Regions from separate parts of the Homo sapiens genome. Here regions 1 and 3 are each linked to region 2. Evidence: promoter capture Hi-C in 16 types of primary human blood cells and fetal thymus (Javierre and others, 2016). All regions are on one chromosome and are shown on one strand. Each heading gives the region's core, a stretch centred on a gene start or on the middle of the fragment in contact. The rest is flanking DNA. Distances are from core to core; before and after follow the strand shown.

Evidence for each region. Contacts are between HindIII fragments. The CHiCAGO score rates a contact against its expected background, and 5 or more counts as called.
Region 1: a contact is called between a fragment that was not itself captured here and the fragment with the promoter of PEX26 in region 2, in 16 of 17 cell types (megakaryocytes, erythroblasts, endothelial precursors and 13 more). The highest score is 17.1, in megakaryocytes.
Region 3: a contact is called between a fragment that was not itself captured here and the fragment with the promoter of PEX26 in region 2, in 15 of 17 cell types (erythroblasts, total B cells, naive B cells and 12 more). The highest score is 16.5, in erythroblasts.

The regions. Positions count from the first base shown.
Region 1 is chr22:17,786,492-17,789,520 of GRCh38, forward strand. It overlaps MICAL3 (microtubule associated monooxygenase, calponin and LIM domain containing 3), which reads right to left. Exons shown (of 32, transcript NM_015241.3): 32 at 1,158-3,029. Among named protein-coding and RNA genes, the nearest start is that of LINC00528, 11 kb to the left of the region's middle. RefSeq lists enhancers at 1-1,601, 122-171 and a silencer at 2,030-2,242. The HindIII fragment of the contact is 7,814 bases long and covers 1-3,029 here.
Region 2 is chr22:18,076,597-18,079,605 of GRCh38, forward strand. It overlaps PEX26 (peroxisomal biogenesis factor 26), which reads left to right and starts at 1,394. Exons shown (of 5, transcript NM_001127649.3): 1 at 1,394-2,010. The coding sequence starts at 1,781. It overlaps LOC105372853 (a long non-coding RNA gene), which reads left to right. Exons shown (of 6, transcript XR_001755424.2): 6 at 1,062-1,300. RefSeq lists enhancers at 1,068-1,127, 1,458-1,687, 2,168-2,217 and a silencer at 1,758-1,807. The HindIII fragment of the contact is 13,258 bases long and covers 273-3,009 here.
Region 3 is chr22:17,803,599-17,806,738 of GRCh38, forward strand. All of the region lies in intron 29 of MICAL3 (microtubule associated monooxygenase, calponin and LIM domain containing 3), which reads right to left. Among named protein-coding and RNA genes, the nearest start is that of LINC00528, 28 kb to the left of the region's middle. RefSeq lists enhancers at 180-1,379, 374-1,214, 1,215-2,053. The HindIII fragment of the contact is 3,985 bases long and covers 1-3,140 here.

The DNA of each region.
Region 1 (3,029 bases), core at 215-2,714, 290 kb before region 2:
AGGTGACCCTCATGCCTCGGTCTCCAGAAGTGCTGGGATTACAGGCGTGCGCCACGGCGTGTGGCCTTTTTGTGTGCTTCTGACAGTGGCTCTGGCCTGGCCCAGCAGCCTTCCTTTCTGGTGTCCTCCCTAAAGCAATACTTATCATTTCCTGCCACCTGAGGTGGCTGTGAACTGCAGCCCAAGGCTGCCTGGTGCAGCTCTGACAAGCAAGCCCTTCTGAGGAACAAGAGCCTGGGGGTCAGGTGACTACCAAGCCCCATTTCCTTTCCCAACAGGCAAGTGACCCAGCTCTCCTTGTACGGGATGTCCTCTAGGGCCACAGGATATGCACTTTGAGCTGCTCATCCATTTTTGTCCTCTGTTCTACCTGACACGCCCACATTTGTCCCAGCCAGGCCTTTCTTTGTTCTGGAATAGCTGGGAACGCAGCTGGAAGGACTGGGAGCCAGCTTCCACTGAGTGGCTTCTAGCTGCCTGTAGGCGGTGTGGCTCACGTGCACAGAGCTGCTGCGGTCTTTCCCTCCCTGCATGGCGCCCCTGGATGGTCACAGGGTCAGCCGTGCTCCCAACAATGCAACACACCGAGGGAGGGGTTAGAGAGACAGCTGGGGCGTGCCTCGGAGGCTTCTTAGAACAAAGAAAGAGGAGCTGGCCAGGACTGTTCCCTGTAATCTCCTGGGGACAATTTTCAGGCTAACGAGCAGTGACCCTACGCACTGAATGACCTCGAGATCGTTGAAACATCTGAAAGGTTTAGGCGTGGGTGCTGCAGACCCCATGCCATGGACTCCCGGGTCAGCTGTGCTGCAGGACAGAGCCAGGCAGGGCTGGAAGGAGGGCTGCCAGGACCACAGCATCACCCTGACTCAGAGTATCTCCAATTCAAAGAGCACACTTCCCTTCCAGAAGCTACTGGGGCTTCGTCTGAAGAGTGGCTGCTTCTCAAACTTGGCTGCCTAAGACATTTACTCAAGTGACAGCAGTTGTGGCTGAGCCAGGATATTATGGAGGACTAAAAAAAAGCACGAACTTAAAAAAAACCATGTATTCTTTAAACCGTCTTGCACGCACCCAGGCACGAGCTAGATGCGTCATACCTTGCACCTACACCATCCACCTGAAAAATACAGTAAAATGACTTAAGAAACACACTATTTATTTGAAAAACTTTTATTTTGCATAAAACAGACCCATTCCCTTTGTGGGTCAGATGTTACCACCTTTAAAAAAATGTTTTTTAACTCTCCTTTCTGTCCCACTGAAAAATTTATTTTGAAAGGGTTAAGAAGAGTCTATCATTGCTGGTCAAAATCGGCCTGAGGATGGCCGCCAGGGACAGAGGCCTGAAGGCATCATCTGGGCAGGCCTGGAAGCCCACGGGGTGCAGCATCCTCAAGCCCAGGGGCGGGAGCGCCTCCGGCCTGCCCTCCAGGGAAGCTGCATGTGGACCTCCACGGTATTCAGCCTCCAGTTTAGTCAGCCTTGAGTCTGGGCTGCTCCCGCACCTGGTGTTTTATGCGTGTGATATATGTGTATCCATCCTGCTTCCCTGCCTTCAAGGGAAGACTTAACTCTCCGAGAGAAAACCTGCCTGGAGCTGCGCACATTCTCACAGCTTGAGAACGCTTGACGCAGGAAGTCACCAGAGTACTCAAGTCAACCGCAAACTAGTGGTTACAAAATGGGAGCTTTAAAAAAAGTGCTCTACTAGAACTGGGTGTCCTCACAGTCGGGAGCAGAAGGCTGGGGCGCAGGCCTGCGGCTCTGCGGCGCCTCTCTGCAAAGGCTCGGGTCCACCTTCCAGACTGCAGGCTGCCGTGTGTGCTGTGGAGGATGCCACAGTGTTAAGGCTGACCAGGACCAGAAGGTGACACTGGGCTCTCCTGCTACGTCTGGCCACTTACAGCAGATCCCTAGGCCACACTCCTTCCAAGCCACTTTGCAAACTGTTTCCCTGTTGTGGGGCCAGCAGGAGCTACAAGGGCCGAAGGCGGCTCTGCCGGGGCTGGACCGGTTTTGTGGCATTCGAGGAGAGGTCTGGGAAAGGCCACGCAGGCAGTGAAGGTCTTTTCCCACGTCCAATTTTATGGGACGACTGGGGTTTGAAGATGGAATCTAGAAACCCTCCTCTCCCCTTTTTTAAGTAAAGAGAAAAGAAAAGGAGACCTTTGCCTCACGTGAGAACAGGTGGAGAATCAGCGCTGTGGCGGCCACTAGCGGCGTTATCTCCCGGATGTGCATGGGAGAGAGATGGCAGCTTCTGGACAGACAAGGATGACACAGGTTCTTTGCTCCTTTGCAGCTGGGATGAATGTTCAAGTTGAAGCACAGTGTGGTTCCCATGGAAAGCCCAAGGTCAGCACAGCCACTCAGCCTGCTCCACTGCGGGACGCCTTGGAGGGGCCAGGCCTCTGCTCCCAGCTGGCCCCAGCCCACGGAGGCGGCAGGCGGCTGGAGCGCCCCTGGCAGGCGGGTCTGGTCCGGATGGCTCCTCGCTGGGCTATGTGCTGACTGCTTTGATGGACAAGCACCCCACCCCGATTAGCTCAGTGGCTTGATGAGCTGTACACAGCCAGGCTGGTGCGGAACCGTGAGAAAGGAACAGTTTGGCTATAGGAGCTAGTGATTCGGGGCTCGCCCTTTATGTCCCCATGAAGATCCGGCACAAGGCAGGTGCCCGTCGCCTTCGGAAGGAAGGGCGGGAGTCGCTGATCTGCTTGAGAGGCACCAGCCTGCATCCCAGCATCCACTGCAGCACTCGCGTTTCCGTCTGGGTGAATCTTAGGCTGGGAGGAGGGAATTCTCACCAGCCACATGATTCCAGGGTCCCACCTTGCACCCTCTTGGCCTGTGTGGATGAGGGCCCATCCTGAAACCTTCTTTAACATATGTGCGGAGGAAGGTGATGCCCTGGCCCCCAAACTGAGACAAGGGCGAGTTCTGCAGAGCCGGAATTCTCACTGGGAGGGTGAGAGTGGCAGCTCTGCTGTTGGCCTGGCCCAAAACAGAACGGAAATGCACCCTCA
Region 2 (3,009 bases), core at 144-2,643:
GATACACAGTCATTCCATGAGCAAGTTACACAATGTAAAATAAGGACATTGTGAAAAACAAAACCATACCGTACATAATGCACTTTATAGTAAAGTACTGGGAACAGAGTATTTGGTAAATTGTAACTATAATAATAATTTTAAACAGATCCACAAATCACACTTATTATTATATTCTGTTTCACCCGGGCTTTGCCAAGCTTCCCACATTTGTACTAGATCCTCTTGGCTTTAGTTTCTCCCCAGTTCTCTACCCTTTGAATTCACTCCAAAGCTTCCCTAGAATCTTTGCTCTCCTAGAAATTAGATTAAACAGGCACCTGCTCACATCATACATCCCCTGCCCTTGTCACCAGACATGCACACATCCATCTTCTGGGATTTCCGTTCTCTTGCAGAAAAGTCTGCATGGGAAGCTGAGGCAGAACCAAGTCCACCAGACTCCGAGGAAAGAGAAGTCTGGACCCTGTAACCAGATAAAAGTGAAACCAGGACTTCATTTATTCCACAAATACTTTTTGACTACCTATAGATGACAGGCACTGTTCAAGGCATTGAGGTTCCCACAGTGAACAAAAGAGACAAAAACGTCTGCCTTTGTGAGTTTATATCATAGTGGAAGGAAATAGACAATAAAAATAAGTAAAATATAGACATTGGTATGTAGATGGTGATAAATGATAAGGAGAAATATAAAGACAGATCGGAAGTGACAACAGTGGGGAAGTGGAATTGGTATCTGCATTTAACGTTGTTTTTTAACAGCAAATTCAGGATGGGGCAGAGAGCAGTGAGAAAAATGAGGCCCTTATGCTCAGCGCCCCCAACCCCGCCTCGGTGGGGTCACTATTCATTTTGGAACATTGCCCTTGGGACCAACATATTCTCAGTGGTCCTTGTGAAGGTTTCCACCCTAAGTCCCTCATCCTCACCAGGCAATATTCATTACCCTACAGCAAACTCCGGAGGCAACGCGGAGAAAGTGTGAATCAATTCAAGACTAAGGTTGCCAAAATGTTTGATCAGCTCTGCGTCAGCCTTGACATTACATTACATTACAGATCCCCTGATCGCCACCGTCGCAGAAGCTCTGAATTAAAAGCGTGCATGTAGCTGCACATCCATTGCTGGCACTTCTTCCGTTAGCCTCCGCTGGAACTGGTTAGTGAGGACCCCTCCATTTCACAAGACAGCTTCGGTTTTGCTTCGTTTTGACTTCCGCACCCCGAAGCTGTAGCACCAGTTTGTTTTCTCACGGCACAGGGGCGGCTTCCGGGGCGCGGCGTGCTGGGGGTTGTAGTCCGCGCTCTGCCTCCTACTTCCATTACAGAAGGCGATGGGCCGAGAGCTGAGGAACTACAACTCCTAGAGTACTCCGCGCCGCCGGGACGCCGCGCGGCTGCGGGGCTGGGCGAGCGCAAAGATGTCCGCGCCCGCTGCCGGGAGGCGAGGTGAGTCTTTGATCGTAACCAGGAGCCCGGAGCTGAGGCAGTTCCTGCACGTGTCGCGGGGCCGGAGAAGCTAGGGCCAGGTATTCCAGGGATGCAAGAATCCTGCAAATCTGACGTGTAAACTGCTTCCCCAGCCTCCAGGCGAGCCCAGCTTTTGCCTCAGATAGGCCCCTTCCTTTTCCTTCTCGGGGAATCGACCTCGGGAAGGGGTGTGGGCAAAGAGATGAGGACTCTCCCTCTTCGCCCAGGCCAACTCGGGATATCCCGGAGCCTCTGGGGAGGCGGTCACTCCGACGTCTGAGGACCTGGGCCTTGGACCCGGACTCGTTATGAAGAGCGATTCTTCGACCTCTGCAGCCCCCCTCAGGGGGCTCGGGGGACCCCTGCGCAGCAGCGAGCCGGTGCGCGCGGTCCCGGCCCGGGCGCCGGCCGTGGACCTTCTGGAGGAGGCGGCCGACCTCCTGGTGGTGCACCTGGACTTCCGGGCGGCGCTGGAGACCTGCGAGCGGGCCTGGCAGAGTCTGGCCAACCACGCCGTGGCAGAGGAACCCGCGGGCACGTACGTGCTGGGCTCGGAAATGAACCGATTTCCGGGCGCTCTTGTGGTGGGGCTCAAGGTCTCAGGAGTTCTGTCCTTCCCAGATTGCCCACAAGGAGCTTTACACCTCGCTTTCATCAGTGGTTTGTCTCCGAGAGGGTGGTCGCTCATCGTGTGCCCATTCTACAGAGAAGGGAAGTCGTGTAACAAAAACTTAGTGGGGATCCCACAGCCAATTATTTGCTCCTTGTTCCAAGGTACAATGACATGATGGGAAGGCTGAATGTGTATTAAGTGCTAAGTTCTGTCAGTAAGCAGGTGGTAAAAGTCCTCTCCCAGGTACCTCCGCCCTCCCCGCCCCGCCCAAGGTTGTTTATTCCTGACCTTGGCTGATGATGGGGAATGGGGGTCATGGCAGGAGCAGCGTTCTGGTCCAATTAGAGGACTGGATTAAAGAATTAATTCAGGGCCGGGAGCTGGGGCTTACGCCTGTAATCCCAGCACTTTGGGAGGCCGAGGCAGGAGGATTGCTTGAGCCCAGGAGTTCGAGACCAGCCTGGGTAACATAATGAGCCCTCTTCTCTACCAAAAAGAAGAAAAAGAAAAGAATCCGGAGAAAAAAACCTTGGGCTTGCATTGCTCTTTCTAATGCCACCAGCCTCGTCTGGCAGGTGAGGGAGTCATTTCTTTGCATTGTAAACTTGGGTTAGGCCACGCTAGGGAGGTGGTAGGTAGAATAGCTAAAGTTGACCACAAAGAAGGATGATCTGGAGAGCCCTGGCTGTGTTTTAGGGGACTGGGTGGGAGCTCATTTCAGTGAATGCAGAAGGCTTTGCTTCTGGGTGTCTGGAGGAACCTTACTAGGTGGTGCCTTTTAGCCAGCTATGGAGTCTATACCTCCACTCAGCCAGAAACCTTGCTCCAAGCCCATTTGTTCACAGAGCAAACTCTTAGTTCCAGCTCTCTTTTCAGCCACACACCGGTGCTGTGTGTTATTTCCCCCTCAGGATTACCCTTCCT
Region 3 (3,140 bases), core at 66-2,565, 270 kb before region 2:
CAGCAAAAGCAAGCTCAGATCTTCCTCTGGAGCACATGTGGGCAGCGGGGAGATCAGCACGCTGCTCTGTTTTGAGCTGGAAAAGGGTCTGTGCTTTTGCCATTTGGTTATTGGGTTGATTTCTCCTTGTTTTTGTGAGCAGGGACTGGGAAGCGTGGGTGGAGAAAGGGCGTCAGCGGGGTTAGTGTCAGCACAGGCGCTGCCATACATACCACCCAGATGCAAGTCGATGAGGTCACTGTAATAAGACTCTCCCCAATAGTCTACAACAAGGAATCGGTGAAGAGAGAGTTATTCCATCAGGTAGTCCTCCTGTCCCCCCATACCCAATCAATGATATGATATGGAGCAATCAATGATATGGAGCGCAAGAAACACAGACACAGCGAGGCGGCAGAGGAACGGCTGGAAGGCATGCGTGCCTAAGTGCATCACATACTGCATGTCCACACATGCCGTATCTGCATACTGCGTGGCTGCGGGAGGAGGGCGGTAACTAAAACTCACTGTGGGGAGTCAATGGTCACTATCAACATGATCCCACGTACACCAGGGATCAGCCAGGACAGAGGCTTTGGCTTTGCTGGGAACTCCTGCCCCTGGGACTGAACCTTCTCTAACTAAGAGTTAATAGAGCGGGGCTGCCTGCGTGTCAGTTGCTGATACTGGAAGCCCCAGGCTGAGGGCCTGGAGGCAGGAGGCAAACGTCCTACAGAAGCTCTGAAATCCTTAGGTTTCGTGCAGTCAGTGCTCTCCCAGGAATTCCCACGACCCCACTGCTGACTCTATCAAATGCCTTGCAGACCCACTTTTGCCGAATGGGTTTGAGAGAAAGGGGATCCTGTTTCGAGGCTTAGGCCTCCAAATTCAGTCGGCCTTCTTAACAACAGGAAACGAGCAGAGACTCATGCAGAGTTCTTCCCCCAGGCACTCGGCCGAAGGCTCCTGGAGGTGTGCTGGCCTGGGGCACTCCTAGCCTGGTAGTTCCACAGCTGTCTGGCCAAGAGCGCTATGTAATTTCCACGCCTGAGATGCAGACTGGGCACTGCCGAGAGGCTGGGCTTGAGCAGGCGGTCCTCATCTCCCCAGAATCATAAAGACACACAGAGCACAGCACTCGGCCGCCATGGTGTTGCCCTCTCTCCAAACCCCGCATTCTGAATGCAGATCCTCACAGCCTCCGGTCCCACCTGAGGGCCTCCCCTTGAGAGTGACACAGCAGACACAGTGGTAGAATGCGGTCCTGCCCCAGTTTTTCAATGCATGCTCAAGGCTGAGTCAGTGTTTTTGTAACAAAAAGGCTTCCCAGGTGCCCCAGGACTGGAAATTACCTAAGTTGTGGCCTGGCCCTAGGATCAAAGGTGCTGAAGCTAATCCTTGCAGCCTGGCCATACGTCGTCATACCTTAGACAAACGGAGAACGGGATGGCAGGTCCATGCTAGAGCGCTTCTCTGGAAAGGCAGCTTGGCTAACAAAGTCTGACGCCCTCAGACGGTGATGGAAGCTGGAGACCCCCAAGTGAGATGATGGCAGGTTCCAGCCAGTTTACTACAGTCCCCAGGGAAGGGCAGACTGCCATGATGAGAAGACTCCAGATTATTATCATGCCCAGCTGCCACTGCCTTCTTCAGGGCTCAGCCAGGTGCCACAAGACTAAGAAGAGGAACGGGACGCAGAAGCAGGAGAGAAAGCAGCAGCAGCACGCACACCTGGGCTTCAGAGACGGCATCGGCCAAGGAGGGGCAGGGCCACGGGGAACTGTGATGGGAGACCAGCTTGGAAGGGATGTATTCACGTAAGAGAAGGAACATATTTGGAAATTCTTATATTCTTATGGTAGGAACCATAATTCCTGAAAATTCCAGAGAGTTTCTCAAATGCATCACAACGAAATATCCCAACAGAGCTACTAAGGCCCATCTTGAAAAACAGAACAGAAACATCTTTGGATAGAGATATCTGCTGAAGACTCATCTAAAGGAAGGAGTTTGCACTACGACAGTGGTTTTCAAGCCTCTGTGGAACCCTAAGGTTCTTCCAAAGGCATTCCAAGGGGTCTCCCAAATACCTGATGTACAAATACTTGTAGCTCTTTCAAGAGCCCTTATTAAAATAAGACACACCACCTTCAAATGTTTTTGTTTTTGAGACAGAGTTTCGCTCTTGTTGCCCAGGTTGGACTGCAATGGCGTGATCTCGGCTCACCGCAACCTCCACCTCCCAGGTTCAAGCGATTCTCCTGCCTCAGCCTCCCGAGTAGCTGGGATTACAGGCATGTACCACCATGCCAGGCTAATTTTTTGTATTTTTAGTAGAGACAGGGTTTCTCCATGTTGGTCAGGCTGGTCTCAAACTCCCGGCCTCAGGTGATCCGCCCACCTCGGCCTCCCAAAGTGTTGGGATTACAGGCGTGAGCCACCGCGCCCGGCCCAAATGTTTTATATGCCAACTTTTCACCCACTGGAGACCATCAACCCAATAATTTGTGCTGCCAGGTGAGCTTGATTTTGTGGAGCCCTCAGGATCAAGTTTCCGCCTCTCTCTGTGTGTAAGTGGCTGAACTCCCTGTAAATGTGTTAGTGAAGAGGACATTTTATTCATTTGTTTATTTAAATTCTGGCCTGCAGCATAGTGCTCACCTGCCACCGTTCAGGGTCTGTCCGGGAGAGCTACAGCTCACTGACAGCACGCACGCCTGTCAGCGAGTCCCTTTATGTAGGTGGGTAACACGTTTTGCTGCGGTATTACAGCATGGCTGGGTTTTTGTTTACTTTGTTTGGGAGCCTCTTGTTTGAGACTTGCTTGTCATGAGGAATAGGAACTGCTGTTAGATTTGCTGTGATCCAACTGTGGAAAAAAAAAAAAAAAAGCTCTTGCCTCATTTTAAACTTCTAGTGTCTACATCATTTAAACTGCAGAAATCCTGAGATTTCCAAGTAAGCTGTTAAAAAAACCAAAAACCAACCAAATAAAAAAAACCATGTTGTCACTTATAGCAACTACAGTTCTTGTGTGTACTGGCTGGATGCCGGGGCTTGGTCATGTCCACCACTCTCTGCTATAACCTGTGTTTTCAAATCTGTGTTAATTATTAACATTTGAGAGTAATTCTTTTTGATTTTAAACTTGAACTTATCAT